Linked DNA regions of Homo sapiens: all the other regions are linked to region 1. The links are contacts of gene promoters, found by promoter capture Hi-C in human tissues and cell types (Jung and others, 2019). All regions are on one chromosome and are shown on one strand. The core of a region is centred on a gene start or on the middle of the fragment in contact, and the rest is flanking DNA. Distances in the headings are between cores, read along the strand shown.

Evidence for each region. Contacts are between HindIII fragments. The study calls those that stand out against the background at their distance.
Region 2: a fragment that was not itself captured here is called in contact with the fragment with the promoter of NPAP1 in region 1 in 4 of the 25 tissues and cell types used here (dorsolateral prefrontal cortex, heart left ventricle, heart right ventricle and 1 more).
Region 3: a fragment that was not itself captured here is called in contact with the fragment with the promoter of NPAP1 in region 1 in 2 of the 25 tissues and cell types used here (aorta and spleen).
Region 4: a fragment that was not itself captured here is called in contact with the fragment with the promoter of NPAP1 in region 1 in 4 of the 25 tissues and cell types used here (dorsolateral prefrontal cortex, liver, mesenchymal stem cells and 1 more).

What each region holds. Positions count from the first base shown.
Region 1 is chr15:24,674,010-24,677,313 of GRCh38, forward strand. It overlaps NPAP1 (nuclear pore associated protein 1), which reads left to right and starts at 1,766. Exons shown (of 1, transcript NM_018958.3): 1 at 1,766-3,304. The coding sequence starts at 1,859. The HindIII fragment of the contact is 8,790 bases long and covers 1-3,304 here.
Region 2 is chr15:24,564,211-24,567,498 of GRCh38, forward strand. It overlaps PWRN1 (Prader-Willi region non-protein coding RNA 1), which reads left to right. Exons shown (of 9, transcript NR_026646.1): 2 at 2,446-2,590. Among named protein-coding and RNA genes, the nearest start is that of PWRN1, 7.7 kb to the left of the region's middle. The HindIII fragment of the contact is 3,541 bases long and covers 1-3,225 here.
Region 3 is chr15:24,754,631-24,757,845 of GRCh38, forward strand. No RefSeq gene overlaps it. Among named protein-coding and RNA genes, the nearest start is that of SNHG14, 67 kb to the right of the region's middle. The HindIII fragment of the contact is 8,191 bases long and covers 1-3,215 here.
Region 4 is chr15:24,780,546-24,783,814 of GRCh38, forward strand. No RefSeq gene overlaps it. Among named protein-coding and RNA genes, the nearest start is that of SNHG14, 41 kb to the right of the region's middle. The HindIII fragment of the contact is 6,461 bases long and covers 1-3,269 here.

The sequences.
Region 1 (3,304 bases), core at 516-3,015:
TGGTTCTGAACCTTCCACATGTCCTATGTCTGGCACACAACATTAGCCCAAAGAGAGCAAAGCAGTCCAGTTAAATAAACCAAAGAAACAAGATTAAAACTAGATAAGGTCATGTGTAGGATTTTCCAAATCTTTCTTGTCATGCTGAAACTTCCAGCTCTTAAAACAGTAACACATATTTCCTTTGTCCTAAAAACCAATATTAAGTCTCCTTCCTTGGGCATAAGAATATGGATAGTTATACTTAGGTGACAGTAATGTGTGGTAAAGAGTGGGCCTTGCTGGCATGCGGACAATGACCAAATTGTATTGATCATATTTTAATCGAATACATTGCTCCACTACTGACTTGCAAATACATGATGAATTTGCTTTCTAACATATTCCAAGAAGGCCAGAGAACTGGCTTATCCATTTGGATTAATCCACTGGTGAATTTCTTTCGGGATAGGCCAAAATGGATCTGGACTATAATCTTTACATATTTAGATCCTTCAAACTAGACCAAAAAGGAAATCTGGGCTGCAAGGCTCAATTAGAAGAACAGTGTGGGATGCTGCTTTGCTGACTATTGGGGGTCGCTGCCCCATGTCTTCAGAGGAGACTGGAGCCCAGTGCCTGCCATGACCAACTTATGAGGTGAAGTAAGGGCTTCCCCCTAGGAACGCATGTGCTTAATACAGATGTGCTGTGTGCTAGGTACCCTAAGGACTACAGGAAATAATGAGAATACATGATGTGTCCATAACAAGGAGGCACACAGGCCACGGCACCAGCTCTGGAATCACACAGCCCAGGTTCGAAGCCTGGCTAGGCCACTGTCATATCAATGACCCAAGGAGCAAGCAGCCTAAGGCTTAAATGTTGTTGCTGTTGTTTGTTGTGGTTTTTTGTTTTTGTTTTTGTTTGAGACAAGAGTTTTGCTCTGTTCCCCCAGGCTGGAGTGCAGTGAGGTGATCTCAGCTCACTGCAACCTCCACCTCCCGCTTTCAAGCGATTCTCCTGCCTCAGCCTCCCTAGTAGCTGGGATTACAAGTGCGTGCCACCACGCTCAGTTAATTTTTGTATTTTTAGTAGAGATGGGGTTTCACCATGGTGGTCAGGCTGGTCTCGAACTCCTGACCTCAGGTGATCCACCCGCCTTGGCCTCCCAAAGTGCTGGGATTAAAGGCGTGAGCCACCGCGCCCAGCCTTAAATGTTGTTTAAAACAAATTTGTGAAAAGAAGTGAAGAGGCCCTGCCTGCCAGGAAGAGATGTGGTAGGGCGTAGCATCTAGTCAGGACAAGGCACCACGTCCCCTCCTCGGAAACCCTCACGGCCTGGCTGGTGACCCTGGCGCCACAGAGACGGCACACCTGGCTCCAGGCAGCACAGAGCACTGCCAAGGTCCTAGAGGAGGCTGGCAGGATATAGGTTGTCCTGTGCTTAACTTGAAGCAGATGTGCCCTCTGTGAACCGGGGAATGGGGACGGCCGACACAGGGCCACTGCGTGCAACAGCGCCGGGCCAGGGCTAAGGAACAGGCAGAGCCGGCGCCCAGGTGACAAGAGCTCTGGCGATGGGCCCGCAGGCCCCAGCAGTTCCCTCATAGAGGCCACGCGGTGCAACACCTGCCACCGGCAGCGGGGCTTCCGGGGGTCCTGGGGCAGCTGGGGCCGACGGGGCGTCGCCCTTTGCCCTCTGACCCCTGCCTTTTGCGCCCCCGCTGGCGCTCCCTGGTTCTGTGAGGAACCTCGCGGCGGCGTCGCAGGCGTAGAGCCAGTCAGTTTGTGCTTGGTCGCCAGAGGAGGCGGTGGCTGAGGAGAGTTGAGTCCACTGCTGACCCTGTTTTACGGTAGGAGGCACGGCTAGCTCTAAATGGGCAATTTACTTAGTAAATTTAGACCCGGGTGCCGCCGCCGGCCCCTGCCAGGGCCAGGGCGTGGCGCCCCCGCTCCCCTGTCCCGGGACGCCTCCCCGCCCGGTCGGGCTCACTCTGTACCCACCCCGCGCCCTTTCCGCGGCCTGTTCCGCCGGAACGCCCGTCGCAGGCCTTCAGCAGCCAGCATCTTCGTCGCCCCTAAGAGGCCGTGTCCTCTCCCTCGGGCTGCGGCCGCCCCTCTGGGGGTCCTGCCGGCTGTGGGTTGGGGGCTGGCCATCAGGAAGACACCCATGCTGCCTGCTCGGAACCCCCCGAGGTTTGGACACCCCAGTTCCGTAAGGATCCCTCCTCCCAGCCGCATGTTCACTCTCCTGCTGCCTTCACCACGTGAGCCGGCGGTCAAGGCCAGGAAGCCCATCCCAGCCACTCTCCTGGAGGAGACCGAGGTGTGGGCCCAAGAAGGGCCCAGAAGAGTGAAGAAGGATGAGGATCCGGTGCAGATCGAAGGGGAGGATGACGAGAAAAGGACCCCCCTTAGCAGCGGAGAAGCATCGTCCACATCCAGGTCCCAGGGCACCCAGGGAGACGTGGCCTCCTTCAGATGCAGCCCTGGGCCTCTGGAGGGAAATGTCTACCACAAGTTCTCAGAAAACAGCATGAGTGAGAAGGCCCAGGCGTCTCCAGCGAGCTCCTGCTTGGAAGGCCCTGCCATGCCCAGCACACACAGCCAGGCCGGATGTGCCCGGCATCTTGGAAAGCCTGATCCGGATGCAACAGCGCCCCCTGAGCCAGCCGTTGGCTGCTCCCTGCTGCAGCAGAAGTTGGCTGCGGAAGTGCTGAATGAAGAGCCACCGCCCAGCTCCCTAGGCTTGCCGATTCCGCTGATGTCCGGAAAGAGGATGCCTGATGAGAAGCCTTTCTGTATTCCTCCAAGGAGCGCTGCTCCTCCCAGAGCTGCCCGCAACAGGCCCTGCAAAAGGAAAATGTCGATTCCATTGCTGCTGCCGCTGCCCCCTTCACTGCCATTGCTGTGGGATCGAGGTGAGCTTCCCCCACCTGCTAAGCTCCCCTGCCTGTCTGTTGAGGGAGACCTACACACCTTGGAGAAGAGCCCTGAGTATAAAAGGAATAGCAGAATCTTGGAGGATAAAACAGAGACCATGACAAACAGCAGCATCACCCAGCCTGCCCCTTCTTTCTCCCAACCTGTGCAGACCACAGACTCCCTGCCCCTGACCACTTACACTTCCCAGGTCTCAGCTCCTTTGCCCATCCCTGACTTGGCTGACCTGGCTACTGGACCCCTCATCCTGCCTATCCCTCCACTTTCCACCACACCAAAAATGGATGAGAAAATAGCATTCACAATCCCTAACTCTCCTCTGGCTCTTCCTGCTGACCTTGTTCCCATTTTGGGTGATCAGTCTAATGAGAAAGGAGGC
Region 2 (3,288 bases), core at 205-2,704, 110 kb before region 1:
GGATGTGGAGAAATGGGAGCACTTTTACACTGTTGGTGGGACTGTAAACTAGTTCAACCATTATGGAAGTCGGTGTGGTGATTCCTCAAGGATCTAGAACTAGAAATACCATTTGACCCAGCCATCCCATTACTGGGTATATACCCAAAGGATTATAAATCATGCTGCTATAAAGACACATGCACACGTATATTTATTGTGGCACTATTCCTTAAGATGTTCTATACACAGGATTATGTCATTCATGAATAGAGATAGCTTAACTTCATCCTTTTCATTCTAGAAGTCTTATATTTATGTTTCTTGCCTAATTACCCTGGCTGCATGTTCCAGTACAATACTGAATAAAAGTAGCAAGAGCATACATCCTTGTCCTGTTGCTAATTTTTTGAAGAAATTACTGAAACATTCATCATATGTTGTGTTGTTGTGTGAGTTTTTCATAGATGCCCTTTATCACTTAAGAAAATTTCCTTCCATGCCTAATTTGCTCAGCCTTGTTATCTTGAATGTGTTTTGGATTTTTCAACTGCTTATTCTGTATCTTTAGAGATAATTATGAAGCTTTTGTCCTTCATTCTATTAATATAGTGTATTACACTAATAGTTTTTTTATGTTTAAGAAAACATATTTCAGGGACAAATGACTTTGCTCATAATGTATATTTTTATTAGGCTACAGGTTTATTTTGATAGTATTTCCTTCAGAATTTTTGCCTCTGTTTCATGGGGCGTATTTGTCTGTAATTTTCCTTTCTTGAAATCTCTTTGTCCAGTTGTGCTATCAGGGAAAACGGGCTTCGTGCGGCGTATTGGGAAGTGTTCTCTACTCCTCTGTTTTTATAATTTTTCTTGAAAGATTAGTTAATAAGGGATTGTTATTAATTCTCAAAGGGGTTAGAATAATTCACCAGTGAAGTCATCACAACCTAGAAAAAAATTGAATCCTACCAACACTAACATGAGCTGGGAAAGGGATCCTTCCCCAGGGGAGGCTTCACTTGAAACCTCAGCCTGGGACATCTGACCCAGAGAAAATGTTAAATAATATTTATGTGTGGGTTTGAACATCTAAGCTGTTCGGTTATATGTTATACAGCGACCTATAGGTAATATGCCTGACAGTAAATGTAATTAAATTCTAGAACAGAAAATGACATCAGTGGAAAACCTGGCAAAATATTAAGAAAGTCTGTATTTCAGTTAATAGTTTTGTACCACTGTCAATTTCTGAGTTTTCATAAATACATTCTGGTTACATAAGTTGTTAACATTTCAGGAAGCTGTAGATTATGTAAAACTGTATTATCTTTGCAAGTTTCTGTAAAACTAAAATTATTTTCAAATAAAAATGTTCTTAAAATGTATTATTTAGGAACAAAAAAAAATACCAACACAGATGGACATAAACAACAAGAAACCTTGGATCAGAGGATGAGTGGAGATGCAGGGAGTGAAAGGCAAAGTACTTGCCTTATTATCCCCATTCCTACACAGGGCACCTGCTTCAGGCTTCAGGCGCCTCATCAAGCTCCAGGGACTCTCATCCATTTTCTTCTTTCCCATCATATGCTCCATTACCCAGTCACCAGTTCATACATCAGTAACCACTTTTTCAAAGAAAGGTGCCTGCCCCACATGTGTTAGAAGGCCCTATTTTCAGACACTTTGTGGTAGTGTCTTTGTGGGATCTCACTAGAGACATTTTGGAAGACATGACTTCCAGACAAGATTGAGAAACACCAGTGATGGGGAACATAAATAATATTTCTACATTAGGAGTGTTTTCTTAGTTCAGAGATTCTTTTGTTCAAGTTTCAAAGTTTTTTAAAGCCTTTGAGAATACCCTATGATAATTAAGTTCTCTTTATTATGCAGACTTCATCATGAATTCATGGCATCACACAGTCCCCTGATGCTATAACATCATGGATTTCTTTTGTCCAGTGAGAGGCCCAAAAGCTGCAGCATAGACAATATCATAGTGTAGAAGGTTCACTAGGTATGAAAATAAAAGCTTCTAATCATGGGGTTGTAGGCTAATTCCTGCTTACAGAGACCTGAAATGAACCTTTAGACACCAGGCATATGAAAGTGAGGCATGTTAGTGATACAGAGTGTGTTGTGCAGAGGTGGAAATAGCCTAATAGAAAAAAGGGAAGAAGAGCACAGTACAACATAGCCCAGCCCACCATGTAGTGATCTAAGAGATGGACACGGGCTGAGTGCTGACTTTGCATCTGTACTGGTTAAACAAAGATCCCCACAGCAGGGAGGACTGTCCCCTCATCACCCACATAGCTCCCCGTTCACAGGCCACACCACTTTACGGGAGAGCACCAGGGTTGTTCCAGGAACAATGTCCACAAAGCTTACTAAGCCATGGGACTGTGTGCTACACTCCCAAGGACATCCACGAAGTTAGGACTCTTTTTGCTTTTTCAGACCGTGATCATGGGCTACATTCTCCGTACCAGCTTCATAGCTCCAGTGAGAAAATAAATTCCTGCATCCAGGAGATGTGGAGTAAGAGATACAGCTGCCCTTGACCATATTTCTTACTTCCGAGAAGATCGTAGCAGTAATTCAGGTGCTATTATTTGGGACATTTATAATTCAATAAACCTTCTTACCCCTCTGAGCTTACAATTCACCCCATAGGAAGGAGAGCCTCATTTAAATTGATAATCTCAGGCCGGGCGCGGTTGCTAACGCCTGTAATCCCAGCACTTTGGGAGGCTGAGGCGGGCGGATCACAAGGTCAGGAGATTGAGACCATCCTGGCTAACACGGTGAAACCCTGTCTCTAATAAAATACAAAAAATTAGCCAGGCGTGGTGGTGGGCACCTGTAGTCCCAGCTACTCAGGAGGCTGAGGCAGGAGAACGGTGTGAACCCAGGAGGCCAAGCTTGCAGTGAGCTGAGATCCTGCCACTGCACTGCAGCCTGGGGGACAGAGCAGGACTGTGTCTCAAAAAAAAAATATGGACAATCTTAGTAAATGGAAGTTTGCTCGTTTCATTTCATTATAAGAGGAGTTTCTATAAGGTAAGTGACTTGTCAAATCCCATTTTTCTCTTCATTTCTATGCATACATATGGTCTGTTATGATGTGTACTGTGAAGATCATTCATCACCAAACTATTCAGGAAAAACAAAATCACCAAGTGGCAGGCCATGAAGGAGATGGAAGTAGATGTGTCTAAGGAGAGACTCATCTCTAGGTAGCAAGAGGGTCAATGAGTTCTGAATGCCCAGGGTTAAGATAGGAAAGGTGATAGACACAAA
Region 3 (3,215 bases), core at 27-2,526, 80 kb after region 1:
AAAGTATCAATGCTCTTGGAAACTTGGATTCTCACAGCTCATAAATGTTTTGGAAATCCTGCCAAAAATATTTTTTAGATCACTAGACTGAAGATTTCATTGCTTGTGTAGCAGCCAGTTGGGCAAAGTTATCTAACACAAAGCCTATTTTATAATAAAATGTGGAATAGCTTATGCAATTTATTGACTACTGTACTGAAGGTGAAAAACACAATGGTTTCATGGGTCCTTGAAGTACACTTTCTGCTGAATTCATGTCAGTTTCCCACTATCATAAAGTTGAAAAATCTTAAGTGAAACATCCCAAGTCACAGAGCATCAAAATGTAATCAGTATATCAGTCACACATAACAACACATTGTAGAAAATGCAGGTTTGGTTTAGGTGTGGTGGTTCATCCTACTCATAAGCAGTTCTTTCATCTCTAACGAGTCGCCTCTCATCGTGGGCTAATGCTGCAACATGGGCTGTGTCATGTAAAAGCCTGTCTTTTTACAGTTAGGAATAAGATGAAAGCGTTGAAGGCTAAGTTCATTAAAATGACTTCTTCGAGTGGCTTTGCCTTTTCTCCTGGACTGCTCCCATAGTTCTGTGACCCATGTCAATATAGAAAATGGTAGCACAAGCCAACCCTCTCTGCATAGGTGCTGGCATGATTCCTCTCTTCCACTCTTAACACTGGGCTTGGATAATGGCTTGATGACACTGAGCAAAACTCTTCTTAAGACCCTCAGTTTCATCTTCTCGACACAAAAAGTCTCAAAAGTCCTTGCCACACTACAGAAGGAAACTTAAAGCTGTAACTTGACACAATCTTAGGGCTCCTATAATTGTTTTAAGTCTTTCAGGGATTACTGTCCGTCCTTGATTGATGTACAGTGTCTTGCAAACCATTGGTCCATATAATTTTTATTGTTCCGTATAATTTCCATTGTTCCATATAAGCTGTCCAGTTTTTTACATTTGTTGAGGCATGTCCAAACCATATTTGTTTTTCCACAGCGTTTTGATTCATACCTTCCACAATTACACAATGATTACTGCATTCCCAGCTGTTTGCTTCTAGCTCGCAATACAAAGGAAAAATGTGTGTGAAACTCACAGAGAAAAATCGATAATTAAACTCCGTTTGTAACACTAAAGGGAAGATCATAATTGACCTATACACAGTATCAGTAGGAGTCTCCATGGAAGTCAGCCACTGTGTGTCAATGAATCAAATATTTCACATGGAACTATAAGAAAGGATATCTCTGTCAATTAACTACAGTCAAGCATTAGAACGGGGATGTGTTCTAAGAAATGTGTCATTTGTCGAGTTGGTCATTTTATTGTCAATGAAAAGAGTCAAACTCTGTAAAATATTTGAAGAGATTTATTCTGGGCCAAATATGGCCCGGGACACAATCTTCAGGAGGTCCTGAGAACACGCACCCAAGGTGGTTAGGGTGCAGCTTGGTTTTATACATTTTAGGGAGGCATGAGATAGCAAATACATATAAGAAATATATTGGTTTGGTCCAGAAAGGCAGGTATTCTAAGAGGGGTGGGGGGTGAAGGTAAACTTAAACATTTTCTGATTGACAATTGGTTGAGTTGGTCTAAAGACCTGGAATCAAAGAAAGGAATGTCTCAGTTAAGATAAAAGGTTGTGGAGACCAAAGTTTTATCATGCAGATGAAGCCTCCAGGTAGCAGGCTTCAGAGAGAATAGGTTTTTGTGTTTATTTTTGTTTTAGAGACAGAGTCTCACTCTATCGCCCAGGCTGGGATGCAGTAGTGCGATCTTGGGTCACTGCAACCTCCACCTCCAGGGTTCAAGCAATTCTTCTGCCTCAGCCTCTCGAGTAGCTGAGATTACGGGATGCGCCAGGGTGCCTAATTTTTGTATTTTTAGTAGAGACAGGGTTTTGCCCTGTAGGCCAGGCTGGTCTTGAACTCCTGACCTCAGGTGATCTGCCCGTCTGGGCCTCCCAAATTGCTGGGATTACAGGCATGAGCCACTGCACCTGCCTAGGTTTTAAAATGTTTCTACTCAGACTTAAAGTTGGTATTAATATTAATGCTGGAGAGGTATACTGAGGCATGACCAACCCCCACTTCCTGTTAGGGCCTGAACCAGTCTTTCAGGTTAAATTTTAAAAGAGCTCTGGCTGAGGGGAAAGTCCATCCAGATGACTGGGCACTCTTAGAATTTTATTTTTTGCTTACATTGTGAACATCATAGAGTGCACTTACACAGACCTAGCTGGTATATCCTCCTATACACCTAGGCTGTATGCCTATTGCTTCTAGGCTACAAACCTTTGCAGTGTGTTACTGTACTGAATATTCTAGCCAATTGTAACACAATGGCAAATATGTGTGCCTGTAAACATATCTAAACATGGAAAAGGTAAGAATACAGTATTAGACATAAAAAATGGCACACCTGTATAGGGCACTTACCATAAACGGAGCTTGCAGGACTGGAAGTTGCTCTGGGTAAATTAGTGAGTGGTGAGTGAAGGTGAAGGCCTAGGACATTACTCTCTGCTTCTGTAGACTTTGTAAACATGGTTTTTGTCCCTTCCATCATTTTCCAGGTGCAGATACGATCTATGGATAAGAAAATTCAGTGTCCATGCCAGGCACGATGGCTCATGCCTATTATCCCAGCACTTTGGGAGACTGAGGCAGGTGGATCATTTGAGGTCAGGAGTTCAAGAGCAGCTTGGCCAACATGATGAAACCCCATGTTTACTAAAAATACAAAAATTAACCGGGCATGGTGGTGTACACTTTTAGTCCCAGCCAGTTGGGAGGCTGAGGCAGGAGAATTGCTTGAACCCAGGAGGCAGAGGTAGCAGTGAGCCAAGATTGCAACACTGCACTCCAGCCTGGGCAATGGAGTGAGACTCTGAAAAAAAAAAAAAGGAAGGAAGGAGGAAGGAAGGAAAGGAGGGAGGGAGGAAGGAAGGAAGGAAAGGAAGGAAAGAAAGAAAATGCAGTGTACAACTCAACACCACCTGGTATCAATACATTGTGGGTGAAAACATTCTAACAGGAAGCTGTAGAATAGGGAGATCTGCAGCTGAACAGACAAGGGACCCAATGAGAACTCCAAAGACAGTGAAAACTGGGAACATGCAGAGATGGTGGAGGGTGGCAGTGGGTGGGCCTTTCGGGACTTTTCCCCAAGGATAAACACATGTTCACCAATGTCTGTCTGCATGA
Region 4 (3,269 bases), core at 464-2,963, 110 kb after region 1:
CATCATGCCTGGCCAGAAATAGAATTGATTTTTTTTTTTAGATGGTATCTCACTCTGTCGCTCAGGCTGGAGTGCAATGGCCTGATCTTGGCTCACTGCAACCTCCACCTCCTGGGTTCAAGCGATTCACCTGCCTCAGCCTCCTGAGTAGCTGGGATTACAGGTGCCCACCACTATGCCCAGCTAATTTTTGTATTTTTAGTAGAGACAGGGTTTCACCATGTTGGCCAGGCTGGTCTCAAAACTCCTGACCTCAGGCGATCCACCTGCCTCGGCCTCCCAAAGCGCTGGGATTACAGGCCTGAACCACCTTTGTATACTGCAAAGTTACTGAACTTGTTTTTAGATTCTAATCTTACTTTACTGAATTCCTTAGGATTTTCTATACACAGGATTATGTCATTTGCAAACAAAGATGGTTTAACTTCTTCCTTTCTATTGTGAATGTCTTACATTTTTTGTAGCCTAATTGTCCTGGCTACATCCTCCAATACTCTGTTGAATAGAAGTGGCAAGAGTGGACCTCAGTGTCTTATTTCTAATCCTGGAGAAATTACTGAGGCTTCCATGACATTGTATGTTTCTATGTGAATTTTTAATTGATGCTCTTTATAGGCAAAGTTCCCTTCTATGCTTCATTTGCTCAATGTTTTCATAAATGCTCCAATCATAAATGGGGTTTTAATTAGTCAAATGCTTATTCTTCATCTTAAGTGATCATGTGTTTTTACTCTTTATACTATTTAGATAGTATATTTTACTAATTGTTTTTGTATGTTTATCCAAACTTGCAATGCTGGAATAAATACCCTTGGTCATAGTGTATATCCTTTGTCTACGGTGCTTTTGTGTTTTGATAGTTTTTCCTTGAGGATTCTCGTATTTATAAGGCATGTTGGTCTCTAATTTTCCTTTCTTACAATGTCTTTTTCCAGTTGTAGTATCAGGTTAACTGACTTCATAAAATGCATTGGGAAGTGCTCTCTTTTTCCTTTTTGGTTTTCGTTCCTTTGTTTGTTTTCTTCTTCTCTTGGGAGAGGAGTTAGTGAAGGATTGTTATAAATTCTTTAAAGTTTTGGTATAATTTACTAGTGAAGTAATCTCACCCTGGGCATGTAATTGAATCCTAACAACAATCTGTGAGCTTGGAAGATGATTCCTCCCCAGCTGAACCTTCAGCTGAGACTTCAGCCTAGACATCATCTACACCAGGATTCATGCCCTAAAGAAACAGTGAGTAATATGTGTGTGTGTGGTTTTGAGGCACTTTGCTGTATAAATGAGTTATACAGCAATAAATAAGTAATAAACCTGACAGTTAATGTACTGTGGCATCTGGAATGAATCATTGACAGAAAAAGTGACATTAATGTAAAATCGGGTAAAGTATAAAGACAGTCTGTATTTCAGTTAATGGTTTTTACCACATTCAATTTTATTTGTTTTCACAAATATGTTATGGCTATTTAAGATGTTAAGATTGCAAGAAGCTGAATGGTATACAAAACTCTTTATATTCTCCTTATACCTTTCAGTAATCTAAAATTAATTGTTATTTTTAATTGTCAGATAATAAGTGTATGTACTCTTACTCATGGGGTTAATTGTGGTGTTTTGTTATATGTATACATTGTGGAATGGTCAAATTAGGCTAATCATCATATCCATTACCTCAAATATTTATTATTTCTTTGTGGTGAGAACATTTAAAATCATCTCTTTTAGCTGTTTTGGGAAATATACAACACATTCTTATTATCTATATTCACCATGCTGTGAAATAAATCACCAGACATTATTCCTCCTGTCTAATAGAAACTTCAAACCCTTTGACCAATGTCTCTCCTTCCCCAACCACCCCTTCATAACAACCTGTGGTAACCACCATATGATTCTCCACTTCTATGAGTTTGACTTCTAAGATTCCACATATAATTGAGATCATATGGTAATCGTCCCTCTGTGTCTAGCCTATTTTACCTAGCATAATGTACTGTAGGTTCATCCAAGTTGTTGCAAATGACAGAATTTCCTATATTTTTAAGGCTGAATGGTATCACATTGTGTATATGTACCACATTTTTGTTAATCCATTTATCCATTAATGAGCTCTTAAATTGTTTCCAAATCTTGGCTAATGTAAATAATGCTGAAATGAACATGAGAGTAAAGACATCTCTTCAACATAGTGATTCCAATTTTTTTGGCATATACCCTGGAGAGAGATTGCTATATCATATAGTAATTCTATTTTTAATTTCTTGTGACACTTCCATAGTATTTTCTAAAATATCTGTACTAATTGACATTCCCACCTACAATGTACAAAGTTTGTCTTTTTTCATTTCCTCACCAACATTTGTTATATTTCATCATCCTGACAATAGCCAAAGTAGCAGGTGTGAGCCAATATCTCATTATGATTTTAATTTACACTTCTCTGATGATTACAAATGTTGAAGAATTTTTTCATATGTCTGTTGGACAGTTGTATGTCTTATTTTGAAGTCCTTTGCCCATTTTTTATGTTGTTACTTATACTCTTGTAATTAAGTAGTGCTGAGACCAGCTCGGTCGTGGAGACCATAATCCTGTGGCACTAGAGGAATTAAAGACACACACACAGAAATGTAGGGTGTGGAGTGGGAAATCAGGGGTCTCACAGCCTTCAGAGCTGAGAGCCCCGAACAGAGACTTACCCACATATTTATTGACAGCAAGCCAGTGATAAGCATTGTTTCTATAGATTATAGATTTACTAAAAGTATTCCCCCATGGGAAACAAAGGGATGGGCCAAAAGGAAGGGATGGGTCTGGCTAGTTATCTGCAGCAGGAACATGTCCTTAAGGCACAGATCACTCATGCCATTGTTTGTGATTTAGGAATGCCTTTAAGCGGTTTTCCGCCCTGGGTGGACCAGGTGTTCCTTGCCCTCATCCCGGTAAACCCACAACCTTCAGCGTGGGCATCATGGCCATCACAAACATGTCACAGTGCTGCAGAGATTTTGTTTATGGCCAGTTTTGGGGCCAGTTTATGGCCAGATTTGGGGGTCTGTTCCCAACAAAGTAGTTTGAGTCTTGTATATTTTTTAAGCATTTCACAATTAAAATCTTATTTTAAAAGTGTTGTTTTGGTACCAAAAAAAAACTACACAGACATAAACAAATAACCTCCATCAGGTAATGATGATTCATTGGATGATGGTCATATACATAGGGAGAGAATAGGAAAGCATCTTCCTTATCTATTCACAATTCTAAATTCA